Regions from separate parts of the Homo sapiens genome. Here region 1 is linked to region 2. Evidence: promoter capture Hi-C in 16 types of primary human blood cells and fetal thymus (Javierre and others, 2016). All regions are on one chromosome and are shown on one strand. The core of a region is centred on a gene start or on the middle of the fragment in contact, and the rest is flanking DNA. Distances in the headings are between cores, read along the strand shown. Region 1 holds the start of BRD3 (bromodomain containing 3). Region 2 holds the start of SURF4 (surfeit 4).

The links. Contacts are between HindIII fragments. The CHiCAGO score rates a contact against its expected background, and 5 or more counts as called.
Region 1: a contact is called between a fragment that was not itself captured here and the fragment with the promoter of SURF4 in region 2, in 1 of 17 cell types (fetal thymus). The highest score is 7.9, in fetal thymus.

What each region holds. Positions count from the first base shown.
Region 1 is chr9:134,063,962-134,068,710 of GRCh38, reverse strand. BRD3 (bromodomain containing 3) reads left to right here and starts at 685. Exons shown (of 12, transcript NM_007371.4): 1 at 685-766. RefSeq lists silencers at 80-809, 990-1,239. The HindIII fragment of the contact is 721 bases long and covers 1,882-2,602 here.
Region 2 is chr9:133,374,810-133,379,217 of GRCh38, reverse strand. It overlaps SURF4 (surfeit 4), which reads left to right and starts at 3,158. Exons shown (of 6, transcript NM_033161.4): 1 at 3,158-3,296. The coding sequence starts at 3,249. STKLD1 (serine/threonine kinase like domain containing 1) reads right to left here and starts at 2,852. Exons shown (of 18, transcript NM_153710.5): 1 at 2,658-2,852; 2 at 96-182. The coding sequence starts at 2,744. RefSeq lists silencers at 2,614-3,113, 3,204-3,443, 3,454-3,733. The HindIII fragment of the contact is 2,219 bases long and covers 1,898-4,116 here.

The DNA of each region.
Region 1 (4,749 bases), core at 993-3,492, 690 kb before region 2:
TCTGGGGACTTGGCGCCCTCTCCAGCAACAGCGAACTTGGGCGCCCGCGCCCCAGCAAGTCGGGTGGGGGAGATGGTGACACGGAGGGCGCGGCAGAGCGCGGCTCCTCCCCGGGCGGGGCCGACCTGCCCGCGCGCACCGACGCCCCGCCCCCCGCCCCGCGCGCGCGCTCCCGCCAGGCTAATTAGGCGCGCGGTTTGTTTACAAACACGGGCTCCCGGCAGGTGCGCGCCGCCCCGCCCGTGCGCGGCCGGGGTTCGAGGGTGGCTCCCGCGGGCCTCGGGGTGCCCGGACGGGGGCTGCGGTGCTGGCTGCGTGCCCGCTTCTTCCATGCCGTCCTGGGGCACCGGAAAATCCGCCGCCAGGCGCTGTCCCCGACACGGGGTGAGGAGAGCCGTGCGGGCCCGGGCGGGGAACGGCCCACGGGGTCCCAGCGTTGTTGCCCTGCCGGGCGGGCGCCGAGCCCCGCCCCCGCGCGCCCCCCGGGCCAGGCCCGCTCTCGGCCGGGTCGGCGGGGCGGGCGGGGGCCCCCGGGGCGGGGCGCGGCGCCGGCGGGGCCGGGACATGTAGTCCGCGCGCCCGCGGCCTCCCCTGGGCGGCCCCGGCGCGGGCCCGGCCGCGGACTACGACTCCCGCCAGGCGCCGCGGCGCAGCGCATGAGCCCTGCTCGGCTCCGGCGCGTCTATTATGCTGCCGGGGCCGGCGAGCCAAAGAGGAGCCGGCCGCGCGGGCCGGGAGGGGACGGCCGCCGGAGCCGCGAGGCCAAGTACGCCTTTCTCTTGCTTCCTTGCGCGCGCGGGGCGGCGGGCGGCGCGGGCGGCGGCGGGCCGGGCTGGGCCGGGGAGCGCGGCCCCGAGCGCCCCGCGCAGTCCGCCGGCGCGTCCGGGTGAACCGGGCGCCCGGGGCCGCCGCCGCCGCCGCCGCCTTTGTGCGCGGCCACGATGCAACAAAGCGCGGCGGCCGCCCGGGGTCGCGGCGGCGGTGGCGGCGGCGGTGGCGCGGGCTCCGCTCCCCTCCTCCCGCTCCCGCTTGGCCGCCTCCGTCCCGGACTCGGGGCGTCGCTGCGGCCGGGGCGCGCAGCCCGGAGTTGGCGCGGCCCGCGCGCCCCGCGCCAGCCCGGCCTCCGCGCGCCCTCCCTCACGGAAGGGATTTTTTTCCCCCTTTCCTCCGCCCGCCATCTTTCGAAGGGGGAACCCAGGGAGGACGCGGAGGGGGAAGGTGCGCGCGGCGGCCCCGGCCTGCGGCCGTGCGCTCCGCGGGGCCACTTTCCCCGCGCCTGTTCCGCCGGCCTCGCTCCCGAGCCGTTGCTGGGGCCCGCGCCTGGGGACCGTCGCCGCGCGCCGCGGCCGGGGCGGGGGGCAAGGCCGGGCTCGGCCCTGGGCTCTGCGCGGCCTCCTCCCAGAGTTACGGGCCCAGAGCTGACTTTGAGCCCCCCTGAGTTGCCGGATTATTGCACCCAAACCAGGGGGAGACCCAGTTCCCGTTTTGAAATCAGCCTGAAAATCGCTTAATCCGGGCGAGGGCGAGTTGGAGCGGGAGGGACGGGGGTGCTTCCCCTCCTTCCCACTTTTGGGGGGCGCCGGAGTGACAACGTGATACAAGCCCATCCGGGGAGAAATGCGCACCCCGAACCGTGTACACCCACATGGCCCTGGTGGGCTCTCTGTGAATAAAGCTGGGGCGTGCGGGAAGTCTTATTCCACCGGTTGCTCGTTCGGGGGCAGGGCCGGGATGGGGGCTTCGCGCGGCCTCCTTTCCCTGGAGGGCGAGAACTCGGCCCGCCGAGACCCACCGGGGGCAGGGACCCGGCGTCCATCGTGTGGGTTCCTCCGTTCGACCCAATCCTTGAGTGGTTGCGATCTTTAATTTTGGTTGAAAGCTTTCTGCTCAGAAATAGATACTGGGATTTCTCCCCCTTACATTAAACTTGGTCATTGTCTGCAAAAGTTAACCAGGAGGGGAGACTGTAGTGCATTGGTGGGCAGAGTAATTGGGCTGGAACTGCAAGAGGCAGCTTCGTGTGTCCCGTCCTCCCCCGCCCTACCCTGTGAGAAGGAACAGAAGAGGAAAAGAGTTTTCTTTTTACCCTGCTCTTTTGTAGGCTTTTCCCCTTACTCTTTTCTTTAAAATGGAGGGTTTTTTTTTTTTCCTGGGTCCATGTAGTATGCCTGGGGAGATCCTGGAATCTATGCAAAGTTGTATGGCATTTTTCTGGGGAAAGTAGTTTGTTACTGGCTTCCAACGGGGTCTAAGGAAGGTCTGAACCCCTGCAAGGGGCTGGCCTCGGGGGTTAGGGAGCCCTCCCTCCGGGTTCTTCCCTGGCAGCCCTGATGCAGCCTCTCATTTGCAAATAAAGGTCTGTGTTTGCCGTTTTCTCTGTTGAGGCCTTGATGGGTGCTGGTGGTTACTGATCATGAAAGATAAGGCACACGCTGTAACAGGACGGGCTGCAGGCGAGCGAGGGGCATTTCTTTCTGACCTTCCGGGTAGCCTCAGAGGCCCGGTGCCTCAGCAGGGCACCGGGTGCCTGGAAAGACTGTGGGAGCAGCTCCAGCCTGAGCCCTGCCGTTGGGACATCCGGGGAGGAGGGATTTCAAAAGCTTTCTCCGAGTGGGCAGTCACTCCATTTTTATTTTTGTTTTGTTTTTAGAAAGTAGAGTAATTACTTTCCTTTGACAACAGCTCGCGCCTGCTTCGGAAGTGAGTGAGCTTTGAATGAAGGACGGGACTTGCAAACAGTGCCTGCCCTACACTCCGAAGTAGTCATACCCAGAAAGTGAAAGTGGGGGTGTGCAGAGCGAAGCAGCCAGGCCTGCTGCAGCCGGTGCTACCTTCCTCTACCCTCTTCCTCCAGGCTCTGGAGATGCCAGCCGCGGGAGCCCTGTGCACCAGGCGGCAGTGATGGCCTTGTGCGATTCCTGGTGCCACCAGGAAGTGCCACCACTTTCCCTGAGGCATGGTGGCTCAGGGTTTCCCAAGTGGGGTGATTGGCACAAAACCAACAGCTATGCCCAGTTGTCGATGGGAAGAGCCATGTTTTGCTGTGGATACACACGGTACCGGGGCGGGGTATGGGGAACCGGGGCCTACTCTTCCCAGCGTTGCTGCCTGGGAGGTGGGGGCATGCCTGAAGTCGTGCTGCGGGTCTCTTGGTTTTCAAAGCAGTTAACGCAGTTGGTCAGAGGATCCTCCTCTTGCTTCCTTGACCGGTCATCAAAGTATAACTGACCTGACGGGGTTCCTGTCCTAGGCAGGTTCCTTTTTTTTTTTTTTTCTCTTCTCCTCTTGAGATGGAGTCTCGCATTGTTGCCCAGGCTGGAGTGCAGTGGCACGATCTCAGCCCACTGTAACCTCTACCTCCCGGGTTCTAGCAATTCTCCTGCTTCAGCCTCCCAAGTAGCTGGGATTACAGGCGTCCGCCACCACGCCCAGCTAATTTTTTGTATTTTTAGTAGAGACAGGGTTTCACTGTGTTGGACAGGCTGGTCTCGAACTCCTCACCTCGTGATCCACCTGCCTTGGCCTCCCAAAGTGCTGGGATTACAGGCATGAGCCACCGTGCCTAGCCAGCAGGTCCCTTATATCACGAAGCCAGTATCTGGTTGAAGCTAGAAGGTAACTGGATGAATCATGGTAGAATGCAAGGCTTCTTGCCGTAAAAGGTTTTGGAACTTGCGGGTCTGCCTTGGGCCTTCCCGACCCCTGTGGCTCCGCCCCCTTGTTGGAGCAGAAGAGATGCACAGGTAGCAAAGCATGATGGGGTGCCAGGTGCATTTGGGTCAGCGTTTGCCAAGAATGGCCTTGCTCCTGTGTTTTTGTTGGTACTGCCACCTTGTAGAGGTGCCCAGCTGGTGGCGGAGCATAGGGTTTTCTTTGCCTATTCTCCTTCCTGTGAAATCATGGGCACAGACATCATGGGCCCCTGTGCCCGGGCCTCCCTGCTCTGGTTCCTGGGCTCCTGCCATCTGAGAGGCTTGAGGGCTTGCTTATTTGTTTGTTTGTTTGTATTTTTAGTAGAGATGGCGTTTCACCATGTTGGCCAGGCTGGTCTCAAACTCTTGGCCGTGAGTGACCCACCCGTCTCTGCCTCCTGAAGTGCTGGGATTACAAGCGTGAGCCACCATGCTCGGCCAAGATGCTTGAGAGCTCATTTATTTATTTACTTATTTTGAGACAGAGTATCACTCTGTTGCCCAGGCTGGTGTGTAATGGCATGATTTCCCTTCACTGCAACCTCCACCTCCTGGGTTCAAGCAATTCTCCCTGGCTCAGCCTGCCAAGTAGCTGGGATTACAGGTGCCCGCCACCACGCCTGGCTATTTTTTTTAATTTTTTTTAATTTTTTAGTAAAGATGGGGTTTCGCCATGTTGGCCGGGCTGGTCTTGAACTCCTGACCTCAGGTGATCCACCCATCTCAGCCTCCCAAAGTGCTGAGATTACAGGTGTGAGCCACCATGCCTGACCGAGAGCTCTTTTAAAGAGAAAGTGTCACTTTGGGCCATTCACCTGTTGGTGGTTTAAATTGTAAGTCTTCTGGCCACTCCTGATTGAGCTCGCAGTGGAGCCAGGACCTGTGCGTGTGGCTGGAGGCTCGGACCCTGTTGTGTCCGTGCTGTTGGCTGTCTGCGTCTCGCACCAGTCTGTGGCTGTTCCCTGAGAGTCAGTTCGCAGGCTGCCTCCTCACAGGGCCTTCGGAGCCTGGTGTTGGGAAGATGGGGCGTGGAACATGCCCCCGCCCCCCTCCTTGC
Region 2 (4,408 bases), core at 1,909-4,408:
ATCAGGAAGCTTCTCCAACATGGGAAGAGCTTGTATTGGGGAAAATCACAGTCACAGAACCACCCGGCATGGGATGCACAGGCTTGGCCTCTTACCTGCTTTATCACATGCTTGACTTTGGTTTCCATTTCCTCCACCACCAGGTTCACCCCCAAGGCCCCAGGATTCAGCTGGTACAAAACCTATCAGCAAGGAAGAGAGAAGCTTTCAGGAAATGCACACAACTTTTCCCTTTCCAAAAGCCCAGCTCCAACTCCTTTTCTGGCCCTGCTAACTCCCCTGTCAGGCTGGCAGAGCAAGTGGCTCCACCCCATCTTGCAATAGAGGAAATGGCCCAAGGAGGGCAAGAAGCCTTTCAATGGCAGAACTCTGATCTCACCTATTTGGGGCCGATTCTGGAGCTCTTCTACAACCCTGTATCCCTCCCCCAACCTGCAATGAGGACCAGCTGGGCACTCAAGTGCAAGAACCTCCCAGAGAAAAAGGGCTTATTCACTCTCTATAGACCTCTGTGACCTCAACTTCCAGCATCCACCTCCCAACTGGTTTCCAACAAGAAAGTAACCAATCTTGTGACTGGTACAATCAGGAAGCCATTGTGTGCCTGGCATGGTGCCAAGCACTTCACAGCCACCCTTTGCAGTTGACACCATTGCTACCTCTGTGTTTACATTGGGGAAAACTGAGGCACAAGGAGCTAGGTCCTTGCCTGAGGCTATGTCACTAGAAAGCAGGACACTGCCTGGGGTAACTCTGGGGGTCTGATCTTAGAGCCTGTGATTTGAGCCAAATCTGGAGAGATGGCCACCAAGCCAGAACTCTGTGCAGAGACCAAGTGCTATGGGGCAGGGGGCTGGGCCGGGGATTGCTGGAGGCTGACATTCATCAGAGGATTGGGGGAGGGAGGGCAGGACCCAGAGGAGGAGATATGAGGATGGAAGCCTGAGCCTAGGGACTCTCGGAGCCCATAAAAGTCTTAGGAGTCTGTAATCCAGCCTTGTGAGCAGCCTGCTCATGACACTGGATATTCTAAGCCAGGGGTCCCCAACCTAGTCCGTGGCCTGTTAGGAACCAGGCTGCACAGCAGGAGGTGAGCAGCAGGCAGTGGAGCAAAGCTTCATCTGTATTTACAGCCGCTCCCCATGGCTCGCATTACCACCCAAGCTCCACCTCCTGTCAGCTCAGCAGCAGCATTAGATTCTCATGGGAGTGTGAACCCTATTGTGAACAGTGCATGTGAGGGATCCAGGTTGCATGCTCCTTATGAGAAACAAATGCCTGATGATCCGTCACTGTCTCCCATCATCCCGAGAGGATGGTCTAGTTGCAAGAAAACAAGCTCAGGGCTCCCACTGATTCTACATTATGGTGAGTTGTGTAATTATTTCATTATGTATTACAACATAATAATAGAAATGAACTGCACACTAAGTGTAATGTGCTTGAATCATCCCAAAACCATCCTCCCGCCTCCATCTGTGGAAAAATTGTCTTCCACAAAACTGGTCCCTTGTGCCAAAAAGGTTGGGGACTGCTATTTTTTTTTTTCTTTCTGAGACAGAGTTTTGCTCTTGTTGCCCAGGCTGGAGTCCAATGGCGCTATCTTGGCTCACCACAACCTCTGCCTCCTGGGTTCAAGCGATTCTCCAGCCTCAGCCTCCCGAGTAGCTGTGATTACAGGCATGCGCCACCACACCTGGCTAATTTTGTATTTTTAGTAGAGACAGTTTCTCCATGTTGGTCAGGCTGGTCTTGAACTCCCGATCTCAGGTGATCCGCCCGCCTTGGCCTCCCAAAGTGTTGGGGATTACAGGCGTGAGCCACCGAGCCCGGCCAGGGACTGCTGTTCTAAGCCACAGCGGGCTGAGGGCAGAGCTGGTGTGAGAGCGTTCAAGCTTAGGCAGCAAATTAAACAGTAAAATGGAGCCGTATCTCGAATCAAGTCTATTTTTTTTTCCAAAAGCAGGTATATTCCTGAAACGTCTATTTTTTTTTAATCTGAAAAACAACTTTACTTTAAAAATTATCTGGCCACCAGAAGCTCATCTGCTTCACCTCTGGCAACGCCCTATAGTCCTCTCACACAAAGACAATTCTTCCAAAGTGACAAAAATCTAACCCGCAAACTGTTTCCAAGCGAATGCATTTTTCACAAATGCTGAATCTAACATTTAATAAAGTGTATATATCATGTATAGAAGCATTTAATTAAACATTTACTTTTATTTTGCAGCTTTCCTTTTGTGTTTTGTGAATTTTTTAGGTCTCAAACATTTTCACAGACCCACGCTGCAGGGGTGTTTTTAGGGGACTGGGGGCTCCCAATTATGTACTCGGGATGTTCCCGGGGGTCCTGCCTCGGTGGACCCAAGCGCACAGACCCCAGGCACGAAGGATAGAGGAGCTGCCCCACGCCCTCAAATACTCAGCCAGGGCTGGAGAATCCTTAGTCAATTCACAAAGGGGGAAACTGAGTGGCAAAGGGCACCCAGGAGGTCACCGTTGGAGGCCCCCCGGGTTCAACCTAGGAGCTGCAGGCCGACACTGGCCAGGGCGCGGGCCCCTCGCCGCCCTCGGTCGGAACCGCCGGCCGTAGCTCCAGGGTTGCGACCGTTACCCCACGGAGCTCCCGCCTCCCCGCAGGGAACACTCGGCACCTGGTACTTCTCCATGGGCTCTCCGGGGGACCCTGGGCCTCGCTCCCCCTGCGTGGGGCGCCTGCGATTGGACCCTGGCCCAAGCATGATCAGTAGCGACCGCGTACGGGCGAGCGTCCACCCCTGGCCCCACCCCGCGTGGGTCAGTGGGACCCGCGGGATCCTCCCCGCCCGAACGGCGCCCTCGAGGCACTCAGGCGTCCCTCCCGCGCGCTGGCCCCAGACCCCCAGGTCCCCGCCCCCTTAAAAGGGACGCGTTCCGCCGGGCCGGGAGGGACCGCAGGGCCTGCGCGCGGCGGGCGGGGCCTCCAGCGTGAGAGGCGTGGCGTCGAGCGCGGCGGGCGTGGCTTCGAGCGGATGGGTCGGGAGGCTGGGGATGGCGCGTGGCCCCTTTAAGACGCACCGGGGCGGGCCCGGGCGGCGCGCGGCCCCTTTAAGGCTTGGCCTACGTGGCAGCCGCTGGAGCCGCAGCCGACGCGGAGCGAGGCCGGCCGCCGGGCACTTCCTGTGGAGGCCGCAGCGGGTGCGGGCGCCGACGGGCGAGAGCCAGCGAGCGAGCGAGCGAGCCGAGCCGAGCCTCCCGCCGTCGCCATGGGCCAGAACGACCTGATGGGCACGGCCGAGGACTTCGCCGACCAGGTGCGGCCTGCGGGCTCCTCCCCCGGCCCCGGTCCCGACCCAGGCCGCCCGGGCCGCTCCGGAGTCGGCCTCCCAGCGCAGGGCGCCAGGCCCGGGCCGCCCCCTGACTCCTTGTTCCCACAGGGGGACCCCCCCGCCCGGGCCCTCTGTCCCGGCTGGACAGCCCCAAACCCGGCCTCCGGGCCCAGTCTCCCCTGCCCGCTGGGCCGCTCCCGGAGCCCGGGCCTCGGCGCCCTGCCTGGCTAGCCGCCCCCACCCTCCAGCCAGCCCGGGGCGCGGGCTGTGGGGGTTTCTTCCCGGGCCGGCGGCGCGAGTCCTGGCGTTGGGTCGGGTCTGAGGCTCGCGGGGAGCGCCTCGGCGTTTGGAGCTGCTGGGGGGTCCCCGCACGTTTTTCCTCTCACTGGGGCTCCCGGAGGCGGGCTGGGAGCTCGGGGACGAACGGGGGCCGGGGGTCCTCCCAGAGGAAAGGGGGCGCGCTGGCGTGCGCCCCAGCTACAGGAAGCCACAGCACCTTTTCCTTTTCTCTTTCCCAGATGTGCTGGACTCTTGGGGTCCCTTTGACCCTGTCTGCGTCTCCCTCCCCGTTTGGACTCTGCCCTGGGCTGGATTGAGTGGGGACCTGTACACAGCCTGGGAGGAGGGGAAGCCTATCTCCCTGATAGTCTCCTTCCAGAAGTGTCCAGGTGGCATTCTGAGCAACAGGGAAGCCTTTGAAACAGGCGGTTGGGTAACTGTTGAGAGCATTCGGGAACTGGGTGGACAGGATCCGATCCTACAAAGTGAAGGGACACAACTCCCTTCCCTCTTTCTTGATTAAGCTTGACAGAACAAAAAAACAAAAACAAAAGGTGGTGGTGGTTACGCAGATTTATGCCTTTTACTTCTAAAAGAATCCCGTTATGTCGACAAATTAACAGCCTTATCCCCGCAGGGAGAGCCTTGTGTGGCCCACTTGCCGTTTTTTCCTCGGTTTACTTAATGTGTTCGTGTGGCTTTGCTAGAGTTTTAAGTAGTGATGGTTAAATTTTTAAATTTTTCTGGAGGTGGTAGTGAGTCATCAAACTCTGAGGCCTAGACTTATCGGAAGGCTTGTATATGTGTGGTTTAAAAAA